3 separate regions of the Homo sapiens genome follow, and regions 1 and 3 are each linked to region 2. The links are contacts of gene promoters, found by promoter capture Hi-C in human tissues and cell types (Jung and others, 2019). All regions are on one chromosome and are shown on one strand. Each heading gives the region's core, a stretch centred on a gene start or on the middle of the fragment in contact. The rest is flanking DNA. Distances are from core to core; before and after follow the strand shown. Region 1 holds the start of H6PD (hexose-6-phosphate dehydrogenase/glucose 1-dehydrogenase). Region 2 overlaps CLSTN1 (calsyntenin 1). Region 3 holds the start of PGD (phosphogluconate dehydrogenase).

Region 1 (3,390 bases), core at 599-3,098, 590 kb after region 2:
TCTTGGTTCACTGCAACCTCCGTCACCGGAGGCAGGGCGGTTCAAGCGATTTTCCTGCCTTAGCCTCCCCAGCAGCTGGGATTACAGGCATCCGCTGCCCCCATGCCCAGCAAATTTTTGTATTTTTAGTAGAGACGGGGTTTCACCATGTTGGCAAGGCTGGTCTTGAACTCTTCAAGTGACCTGCCCGCCCTGGCCTCCGAAAGTGTTGGGATTACAGGCGTGAGCCACTGGGCCCGGCCAGAAATGTTAGTTTCTATCATTAAACCATTAGCTTCACGAATGAAGTCCTTCTTGCTAGCTTCTTGAACTGCTGTTAAAACCAACTAACCAGCTGGGCGCGGTGGTTCATGCCTGTAATCCCAGCACTTTGGGAGGCCGAGGTGGTGGATCACCTGAGGTCAGCAGTTCAAGACAAGCCTGGATAACATAGTGAAACCCTGTTTCTACTAAAAAATACATAAAATTAGCCGGGTGTGGTGGCACGCGCCTGTAATCCCAGCCACTCAGGAGGCTGAGGTGGAAGAATCGCTTGAACCAGGAGGAGAAGGTTGCAGTGGGCCGAGATCGCGCCATTGCACTCCAGCTTGGGCAACAACTAACCATCAACCACAGAAAAATGCCAAGGAAAAACTCAGACAGCTTTTCATGATCTTCCAATCATAATGATGAAAAATTAAAGGGATATGATGCATAATTTAAAATACGCTGTCTGGGCGTGGTGCTTCACACCTGTAATCCCAACACTTCGTAAGGCTTAAGCAGGAGGATCGCTTGAGCCCAGGAGTTCGAGACCAGCCAGGGCAACATAGTGAGACCACTGTCTCTACAAAAGGTTTAAAAATTAGCCAGGCGTGGTGGTGTGCGCCTGTGGTCCCAGCTACCCCGGAGGCTGAGGCAGGACGATGGCCTGAGCCCAAGAGGTGGAGGCTGCAGGGAACCGTGTTTGTGCCACTGTACTCCAGCCTGGGCAACCAAGCAAGACCCCATCTTTTATAAGTAAAAGATTTTTTACTTTTATATAAAAAAGTAAAAAGATAAAATAAAAAATATGCCCATTTGACACCAGTTTTCCCTCATCTGCTGCCTTTCATGAGCCATGGGCCTGTTGTGGGTGCAGGGGGAGTGGGCAAGGACACTTCTTTCCAGAAGTTCTCACTTCTGGCTAAGCATTCAAGGTTGGGTGAGCTGATTTTCAGAGATCCAGAGAGGTTTGCCCCTGGAAAACCGTTCACTAGATCCGGGTACGGGAAACGCTATGTGAAACCCGAGGGCCAATCAATGCCAAAGATTAAGCAGGTCCCGGGGGAAATCTCGGAGTTCCCCCTCTCCTGGAACTCAGTTCCGGGAAGCCCAGGGAAAGGACAGCTCGGCCGCTCGGGGCGACCCTGGAGGGAGCCTGGCCGCCTCCTGAGCAGTTCCAAAGCCGCCAGCCCCAGGCTCCGTGGGGCTGGCAGCGCAGGCTCCGGGGCTCGGCGCGGCCTCGGGCCCGGCGGCAGCGCGGGTTGGAGGCGCCGGGGCCGGGGCGGCGGCGGGGCCGGCGGGGGGCGCTTACTTCCTCTCGCGCGGCGGCGCAGGCCGCTCCTCCGGGACACGGCCGGGGCGGCGCTGAGGGCCGGGCCCGCTCCCGAGGGCTCCCCTGCGCCCTGGGCCGCACCTCCTCTTCCGCAGGGCCCGTCACTCCGACAAGTGCGCGTGTCACGCGGCCACGCGCCGCACGACACTCCGATACCGCCCGCGGAGCCCGCGGCGGCCGCAGGGGAAGGCGCGAGGCCAAGGCCAGCCCGGCCGCCACCCCGCCCCAGGCCTCAGGCCTCAGGCCTCCACCGCCTTGCGCTCAGCAAGACTGGGGCCCGGGCCGGGGGCGCGCGCGGCGGGGGCGCGCGCGGCGGGGGCGGGGGCGGGGCGGGGGCGCCGGCGAGGCCACGCCCTCCGCTGGCGGCCGCCGGGGCGGGGCCTCGGAGCTTCCGGGGCGAGGCGGTGGGTCAGCTCCGAGCCTCCGCCCCCGCCCTTCCCTTCGGCCCCCTGGTGGCCGTGCGTCCTAGAGCTGTCCTGCCGCGTCCGAGACGCGCGCGGGACCCAGAAGTGGCCGAGGGACGTGGTTGTGTCGTGGAGGGGACCCGGGGTGCTGGCTGCTCCCTACGATCTGGCACCCGCTCTGGGACTCCTCAGGCCTCGCTTTTCCCCATCTGTAGAATGAGCGGCTCGGTCTTTCCCGTCTTCAATATCCAGAGTAGGGATTTAGAAGTCGGAGCGCACACGCTGGCCACGCCTCCGCGCACAGCTTCAGATCTCTGCCACCCCTTATCACTTGTGTGACCCTGAGTTCAGTTTCTTCATCTGTACAGTGGGGACAATGGGAGTACCTGCCTCCGGGGTTGTCTGGCACTTGGGTGCTTAGTAAGCGGAAGCTTGGACCCGTGTGGCAAATAGAAGACTTTTGCTAAGACATTGCTAAGAAAGACAGCAAATGGAATCAGGGCTTCTCTGTAGGGTGAGAGGTATTTAAGTGAGAAAACGGGATCAGCTGCCTCTCAGAGCACTCAGTCCCCTTCCTGTCCCCCACCATTATCAGGCAGTAGGTGGCCCTCACCATGCTCCCCAACCTGCTCCCCACTTTTTCTTTTTTCTTTCTTTTCTTTTCTTTTTTTCTTTTTTTTTTTTTTTTTTTTTTTTGAGACAGGGTCTCGCTCTGTCACCCATGCTGGAGTGCAGTGGCGCTATCACAGCTCACTGCAGCCTCCGCCTCCCAGGCTCAAGTGATCCTCCCGCCTCAGCCTCCCAAGTAACTGGGATCACAGATGTTCGCCACCACTCCTGACTAATTTTTCAACTTTTTGTAGAGACGGGGTCTCACTTTGTTGCCCAGGCTGGTCTCGAACTCCTGGGCCCAAGTGATTCTCCCACGTTGGCCTCCCAAAGTGCTGGGAGGAGATTCTGACCTGAGAGAGAAACTGTGCTGCAGCTTTTTATTTCCCGATGGTTCCATTAGAGGTGGGAGCGTCTGGAACTAGCAGTGGCAACTTGGCAGTGGCCGGCAGGACTGAATGGGGCCAACAGGCATGATTACCACACAGGATGTTAGGCAAGGGGTTCCGGGAAGGCTGGGAACTGAGGGGAGCTGGGCCTCACCGTCACCAAGGCCAGAGGCCATCCGGGCGCCCGCAGAGGGCTGCCAAGCCTCGGCAAGGATTTAGGTCACACTGAGTGGGCCTGGCAGAGGGGGGAGCCAGGGAGCCAGGCACTCTCTGGGCTACCTCCACAGCTGGAAGTGAGCAGGAGGGCTTAGGGCAGGAGCGGGCCAGAGCAGACTCGAATGATGCCGGGACTCTTGGCCTAGAGCCCTTCCCATGTTCTGTGGCCCTGAGTGTGTCAGGCACCCACATAGCT
Region 2 (3,338 bases), core at 648-3,147:
ACCTGAGACCGACAGAAATCTTGTGTGAAAGGTGTGTTGGCTAGTTGAGTCATTTGTAATTTGCTTTCTCTAAGTTTTTCTTGGTGCAGTTACAGTAGTTCAAGATTCTTAGTCTTCGGAATAAAGACATTTTACACATCAGTTATTCGTATGCATTTTTTTCAGGTTGCAAGTTAGAAAATGTCTTGGAATTACACGAAATGCTAATAAACAATTTCATTTTGAAATATTACAAGTGAATTTCATATGTAAATTTACAGTTTGGAGACACTCTGTGGGCTCGTTTTAAGAGATCATTTCAACTAATTGAATTTTTTACGGCTGTAAGGCAGTACGACATGAACTCCTGTTCATGCTGTAGCTACCTTTAATCATTGTTAATGTTAGATTACGTACAGACTGCTGCAGAAAATGATAGATTTTCTAATATAAATTGCATCTTGACTCTTAGTTTTGTAGAGACCCTCAAATTTTATTTTAATTATAGCTGTAGTTCTCAAAAAACATTGAGTAGAGCTGGGTGCAGTGGCTTGCGCCTGTAATCCCAGCACTTTGGGAGGCCGAGGCCAGCGGATCACCTGAGGTCAGGAGTTCGAGACCAGCCTGGCCAACATGGTGAAACCCCATCTCTGCTAACTATATAAAAATTAGCTGGGTGTACTGGTGGACGCCTGTAACTCCAGCTACTTGGGAGGCTGAGGCAGGAGAATTGCTTGAACCCAGGAGGCGGAGGTTGCAGTGAGCCGAGATTGCGCCACTGCACTCCAGCCTGGGTGACAAAGCAAGACTCCATCTTAAAAACAAATTCAGTAAGCCAAAATATTAGAAGAAATATCTTTGGCATGCCCTGGACGGTCATGTCCTTCAGCTACCTGCCTTCTTCATGGAGATCGGGAAATAGAACAGTGAAGCAGAGAAAATAGAAAGCTTATATGAATATTTAAAAAATGCAACCATGTAATGCATTTCGAAGCCACTTAATACATAAAATTCACTGTTACTTTTCCATTTGCACATAGGCTTAGTGAGACCTCCCCTCACCATCCTATTTGAAATAATTTCTCTTCCTGAACCCCTAAATCCTGTTTCCCTGCAACACTTTTTCTTTTTGCATAGCACTTAGCCCATTCTAACATGCCTTGTTGTTTACTTATTGAATTGTTTATCGTCTGTTTCCCCTCAGTAGAACATATGCCCCAAGATGGAAGGGTATCTGCTTTGCATATGTTTCCCGTCACCAGCACACCAGAGGCATGCCAGTATTGTGTGATTGAATGAATGAATGGGTGGATGGATAACAGCATTTCAGTTTAGACAGCGTAGTAGCTTTGCATCCTAATTTTCACTTTACAGATAAATGCTATATACTGAAAAAAATTACATAGTGTAAAGCAAACTTAAGTTTTTTTTTTGTTTGTTTTTGTTTTTGTGACAGAGTCTCATTCTGTCACCCAGGCTGGAGTGCAATGGCGCGATCTTGTCTCACTGCAACCTCCGCCTCCCGGGTTCAAGAGATTCTTCTGCCTCAGCCTCACCAGTAGCTGGGACTACAGGCATATGCCATCACACTGGGCTCATTTTTGTATTTTTAGTAGAGACAGGGTTTCACCATGTTGGCCAGGCTGGTCTGAACTTCTGACCTCAAGTGATCCGCCTGCCTCTGCCTCCCACAGTGCTGAGATTACAGGTGTGAGCCACTGCACCCGGCCCAAACTTAAATTCTGCAGTGTCGATATGGGAATTCATTAGTGGGTAAATTTTCAAGGATCATGGGGCCAGCCTCGGTGGCTCACCCCTGTAATTCCAGCACTTTGGGAGAACTAGGCAGGCAGATTGTTTGAGCCCAGGAGTTTGAGACTAGCCTGGGCAACATGGTGAAACCTTGTCACTACAAAAATACCAAAAAAAAAAAAAAAGTTCAAGGATCAATTCTGTTGGTTGCAGTATTGGGGATATTAGATCATGAAACTCTGTCTCAGCCTTTGAAGGCTGTAGCTCTGTGGCTACCCCTGTTAGTCCCTTTAAAAATACTATAATTTTCAGCTTTTTTGGGAAGATGGTTTCTTAATTTGTTACCTCGTTTTTTCAGAAGTAACGATGTGGAAAAAAGTCGTTCGAATATAGACCTCAGTATTACCCATAGTCTAACATTTTTAATACTGAAAGTAAATAACATTTATTTCTCAAAGGAGACCTATAACTGCTGAAGAAATAATAAAATACGAACAATTTTGAATATATTCCAATTTTAGAGCATTCACTCGGTTAACTGGAACCTTCAGTTAGCTGGAATTCGTCCTTTGGCTGGATATTTCTTTTGGGAGAAAAAGCATGAAACCAAGCAGTTTTATAGGAATTATTTTTCAAAAGGAAGGTTTAGGAGGTCATAACATACATTATCTGTGCCAGTATTTGATATTCAAGCCAAAAACGCAAATAATATTTCAGTTTTAGTTATGAAGAATATGACCAAAAAATGAAATTTTTGTGGGATATAAAATATTACATTGAAAATAGAAAATGCTGTAATTTCGTAACACTAGCTGCAGGACTTAGTGAAGCTTATTAAACCAAGTCTAAATGTTTAAAATGAGGAAGCTGAGATAGGTTAAAATTTTAGAACAAAGGAAAAAAAGTACTGAGTTATTTTTATTATTGCTTTCTGAGACAGGAAAGTATGTTTTTTAATTTTTTTGGGTAGTTTTCATTTATAAGAGTTGAAACAAAATAGAGATCTGATTATCCTAAAAAACCGCCAAGAGTCTATTTCTTATGTATTCTGGTTGAGGGCTTAGATCATTAAAACTTGTTTTTTTAGTGGGTCTTAATTTGGTGTGAAGACTTGCTTGAAGGGGCCGGGTGCGGTGGCTCACACCTGTAATCCCAGCATTTTGGGAGGCCAATGTGGGTGGATCACGAGGTCAGGAGATCAAGACCATCCTGGCTAACACGGTGAAACCCCATCTGTCTCTACTAAAAAAAAATACAAAAAATTAGCCAGGCGTGGTGGCAGGTGCCTGTAGTCCCAGCTATTCGGGAGGCTGAGGCAGGAGAATGGCGTGAACCCGGGAGGTGGAGCTTGCAGTGAGCCGAGATCGCGCCACTGCACTCCAGCCTGGGCGACAGAGTGAGACTCCGTCTCAAAAAAAAAAAAAAAAAAAAAAAAAAAGAGTTGCTTGAAGAAATATGTCTTTATAAGTGAAATTTAAAATGTTGATTTGCTACAAAATACGGATTTTAGTAGTGTTTCAGGACTACAGATTCAAGATTGGTGGAAATTATTTATGCAATGTCATGTTCGTGCATTAAAAAACAACCAAGGCCTGGCGCGGTGGCTC
Region 3 (2,906 bases), core at 231-2,730, 580 kb before region 2:
GCCCAGCCTTCACCAGGAGGATGATCCGCCGGGGCTTCTTCAGCTTGGAGACCATCTCTTTCAGGGACTGGGCACCCACCACTTTGGTTCCCTTTGCCTCATTGGCCAAGAAATCATCAACTTTGGAGACAGTCCTATTAAAAGCACAGACCTAGAAGGACAAAAGTCCTGAGTAGGAGATCCAGGACACACAAGACTTTCAGACTGTGGCCAAAGTAACAATGACCTTTCCATTCAACCCAAGTTCTGGGGAGGTCAGACCTGCCTTTGCCTTTTCTTCCCCCAGCTGTGGGAGGCTCACTGTAAAGTTATGTCACCTCAGTAGGATGAAAACGGCGGACAACCGAGGCGAAGGCCAACTACCCCCGGTGTGTCAGGTAGAATCCACACCCAACGTGTTAGGACTCAAAATCAAATCCAGGAACTGGCCGGTTCAACAGGCTCTATCTGTTGTTATTGATCATCCTGGCGTCTAAGCCACTTTAACATTTAGAAGAAACATTTTCACTCTCCCCAGATCTCATCAGGCAATCAAGTTAGAGCTCTACACAGCCAGCAAGGGTTCTCCTCCCGCACCCTTCTTCTCTACTTAAGACACTAATTCGTTCATTCGGGCTGTGAACCTCACGGACCCACAGGCACACTCCGCAGGACTAAGTTCGGGATCGGCCCGCCCACGCCTACAGGGTGCTTCTCCTTTCCATACAAAAATGCCACGAGCAGCAACAGAGCACATTAGCAAAGCACGGCCAGGAGACCCGTAAGCTCCCAAACCTATCGCCGGCCTCGGCTAAAGCGCCCGGGAACCAGAGAGAAGACAACGCGCCCACGCCGCTTACCACAAAGCCGTGGTCATTCATGTTCAGAATTAAGTTCTGGCCCATGACGGCCAATCCGATCAGCGCGATGTCAGCTCTAGAGAGGCAGAAACAGAACAAAGGAAAGAGTCAGCACCGCTCGACGCGCTGCAACCCAGGGGTCCGGTCCTTCCACATTTGGCCGTGACTGGGAGTCTGCACTTTCCTCCGCGCCTCCCGCGGGCCCCCAGAAGCCGGGCGCGCACGCTGCAGAGCCTCGGCCGGGCAGGCGGCCCCCAGCCCCGCCCTCGCGCCCGGCTCCCGCTGGCACGCGTCCCGCAGGTGTCCCTGCAGACTCGGCGAGGCCTGGCCGCGCCTCCTCCCTGGCCCTCGAAGGGACCCGCCCCGCCCCATGCCTGCGCGGCCGAGAGGGCAGGGGGCCGGGCCCGCAGGGAAGGAGCTCTGGGCCCGAGACGCCGTAGGGCCAGGGTCACAGAGCCCCAAGTGAGCTCAGGCGACCCCCAGGGTGGGAGGCGTCGGAGAGAACGAGGGAGATCTCGACCCCCAAAGAGTTCCCCGCCCGCTGAGGCCGAGCCGGGCTGCCCCTGGCGAGTCACTCACTGGGCCATGGCGGCGGACAGAGCAGAACCGAAGAGCGGCGACGCGCGGAGGACGAGTGAGGGAAAGACCCGCAGCGGCTCCCTCCAGAAACTGCGGCCGCTCACGCCCGGCTTTTCGGCGCCGGCCAATCGAATGGAAGGGGGTGGAGCCATGAAGCCACACCATTGGCTCTCCCCGACGCCTGTTAGACCATCCGAGGCAAACGTGCCCGCCCACCCCCGGGGGCCGGATCAGTGGAGCGCCGAGCACCTAGATGACATTGCCCCGGCGAGGCTCCGGGCTCCCCGCCCACGCGCAGAGCTTTCCGCTCGTCCCAGCTGCACCTCGGTCCTGCAGGCCGTCCGCCTGGCGCAGCTGTAGCCATAGCAACTCACGCAGGACCGCGCTTTACAGTTTACCAGGCACTCGGACGCCTTTGGCGCGAGCGCCCGTCGCTCCTTCCTCAGGTCACTGCGGTGCACCGTGCGGGTCCGCGTCGTGTCCTCCGCTCCGGAGCAGGGACCGGGCGTGCTCGTTCAGTCCTGTGCGCACTCGGAATGGGGCCGGGGAAGGCTGAGCCTCAGGGCGACCCTGATGTGGAGCCGTGCGACCGCTCACTGCGGTTGAAGAGACCCAGGCGCAGACAGCGCAGGCGGGGTATGTATTGGTTGGAGTATGATGGGGTCAGGACTTGAGTCTTTTACCCAGGCCCGGAGTTAACGGTATTGAACCCCTTCTCATTTTGTAGAGGCTATGTGACCCGCGAGATGGACCAGGTTAAATGCAGAGGCAGATACAAAAAACCAGCCATCTTAAGCCAGACATTTGCAAAGTAGCCAAGCAGCGCTTCTTATCTTACTGAGTCCCTTCTTGCTAGGAGGAAATTGTTATTCAGAAGTTTGAGTTTTAGATTTTTTTTGTTTTTTTTGAGACGGAGTCTCGCACTGTCGCCCGGGCTGGAATGCAGTGGTGTGATCTCAGCTCACTGCACCTTCCGCCTCCCGGGTTCAAGCAATTTTCCTGCCTCAGCCTCCCAAGTAGCTGGGATTACAGGCGCCCGCCACCACGCCCAGCTAATTTTTGTATTTTTAGTAGAGATGGGGTTTCACCATCTTGGCCAGGCTGGTCTCAAACTCCTGACCTCGTGATCCGCCCGCCTTGGCCTCCCAAAGTGCTGAGATTACCGGCGTGAGCCACCGTGCCCGGCCTTTTTTTGATGTCATTGTTGAGATGGAGTCTGGCTGTGTCTCCAGGCTGGAGGGCAGTGGCGCGATCTGGGCTCACTGCAACCTCCACCTCCCAGGTTCAAGCGATTCTCCTGCCTCAGCCTCCCAAGTAGCTGGGACTACAGGTGTGTGCCACCATGCCCAGCTAATGTTTTTATTTTTAGTAGAGACAGGGTTTCACCATGTTGGCCAGGCTGGTCTCGAACTCCTAACCTCAAGTGATCCACCCACCTCAGCCTCCCAAAGTTCTGGGATTAGAGGTGTGAGCCACTGTGCCCGGCCG

The links. Contacts are between HindIII fragments. The study calls those that stand out against the background at their distance.
Region 1: the fragment with the promoter of H6PD here is called in contact with a fragment that was not itself captured in region 2 in 1 of the 25 tissues and cell types used here (dorsolateral prefrontal cortex).
Region 3: the fragment with the promoter of PGD here is called in contact with a fragment that was not itself captured in region 2 in 1 of the 25 tissues and cell types used here (dorsolateral prefrontal cortex).

The regions. Positions count from the first base shown.
Region 1 is chr1:9,233,232-9,236,621 of GRCh38, reverse strand. It overlaps H6PD (hexose-6-phosphate dehydrogenase/glucose 1-dehydrogenase), which reads right to left and starts at 1,848. Exons shown (of 5, transcript NM_004285.4): 1 at 1,556-1,848. RefSeq lists a silencer at 1,436-1,995. The HindIII fragment of the contact is 6,904 bases long and covers 1-3,390 here.
Region 2 is chr1:9,818,609-9,821,946 of GRCh38, reverse strand. The region is part of intron 1 of CLSTN1 (calsyntenin 1); the gene reads left to right. Among named protein-coding and RNA genes, the nearest start is that of CLSTN1, 3.7 kb to the left of the region's middle. The HindIII fragment of the contact is 3,392 bases long and covers 202-3,338 here.
Region 3 is chr1:10,397,638-10,400,543 of GRCh38, reverse strand. PGD (phosphogluconate dehydrogenase) reads right to left here and starts at 1,480. Exons shown (of 13, transcript NM_002631.4): 1 at 1,419-1,480; 2 at 840-915; 3 at 1-151. The coding sequence starts at 1,426. RefSeq lists silencers at 714-890, 983-1,302 and an enhancer at 1,783-2,092. The HindIII fragment of the contact is 25,181 bases long and covers 1-2,906 here.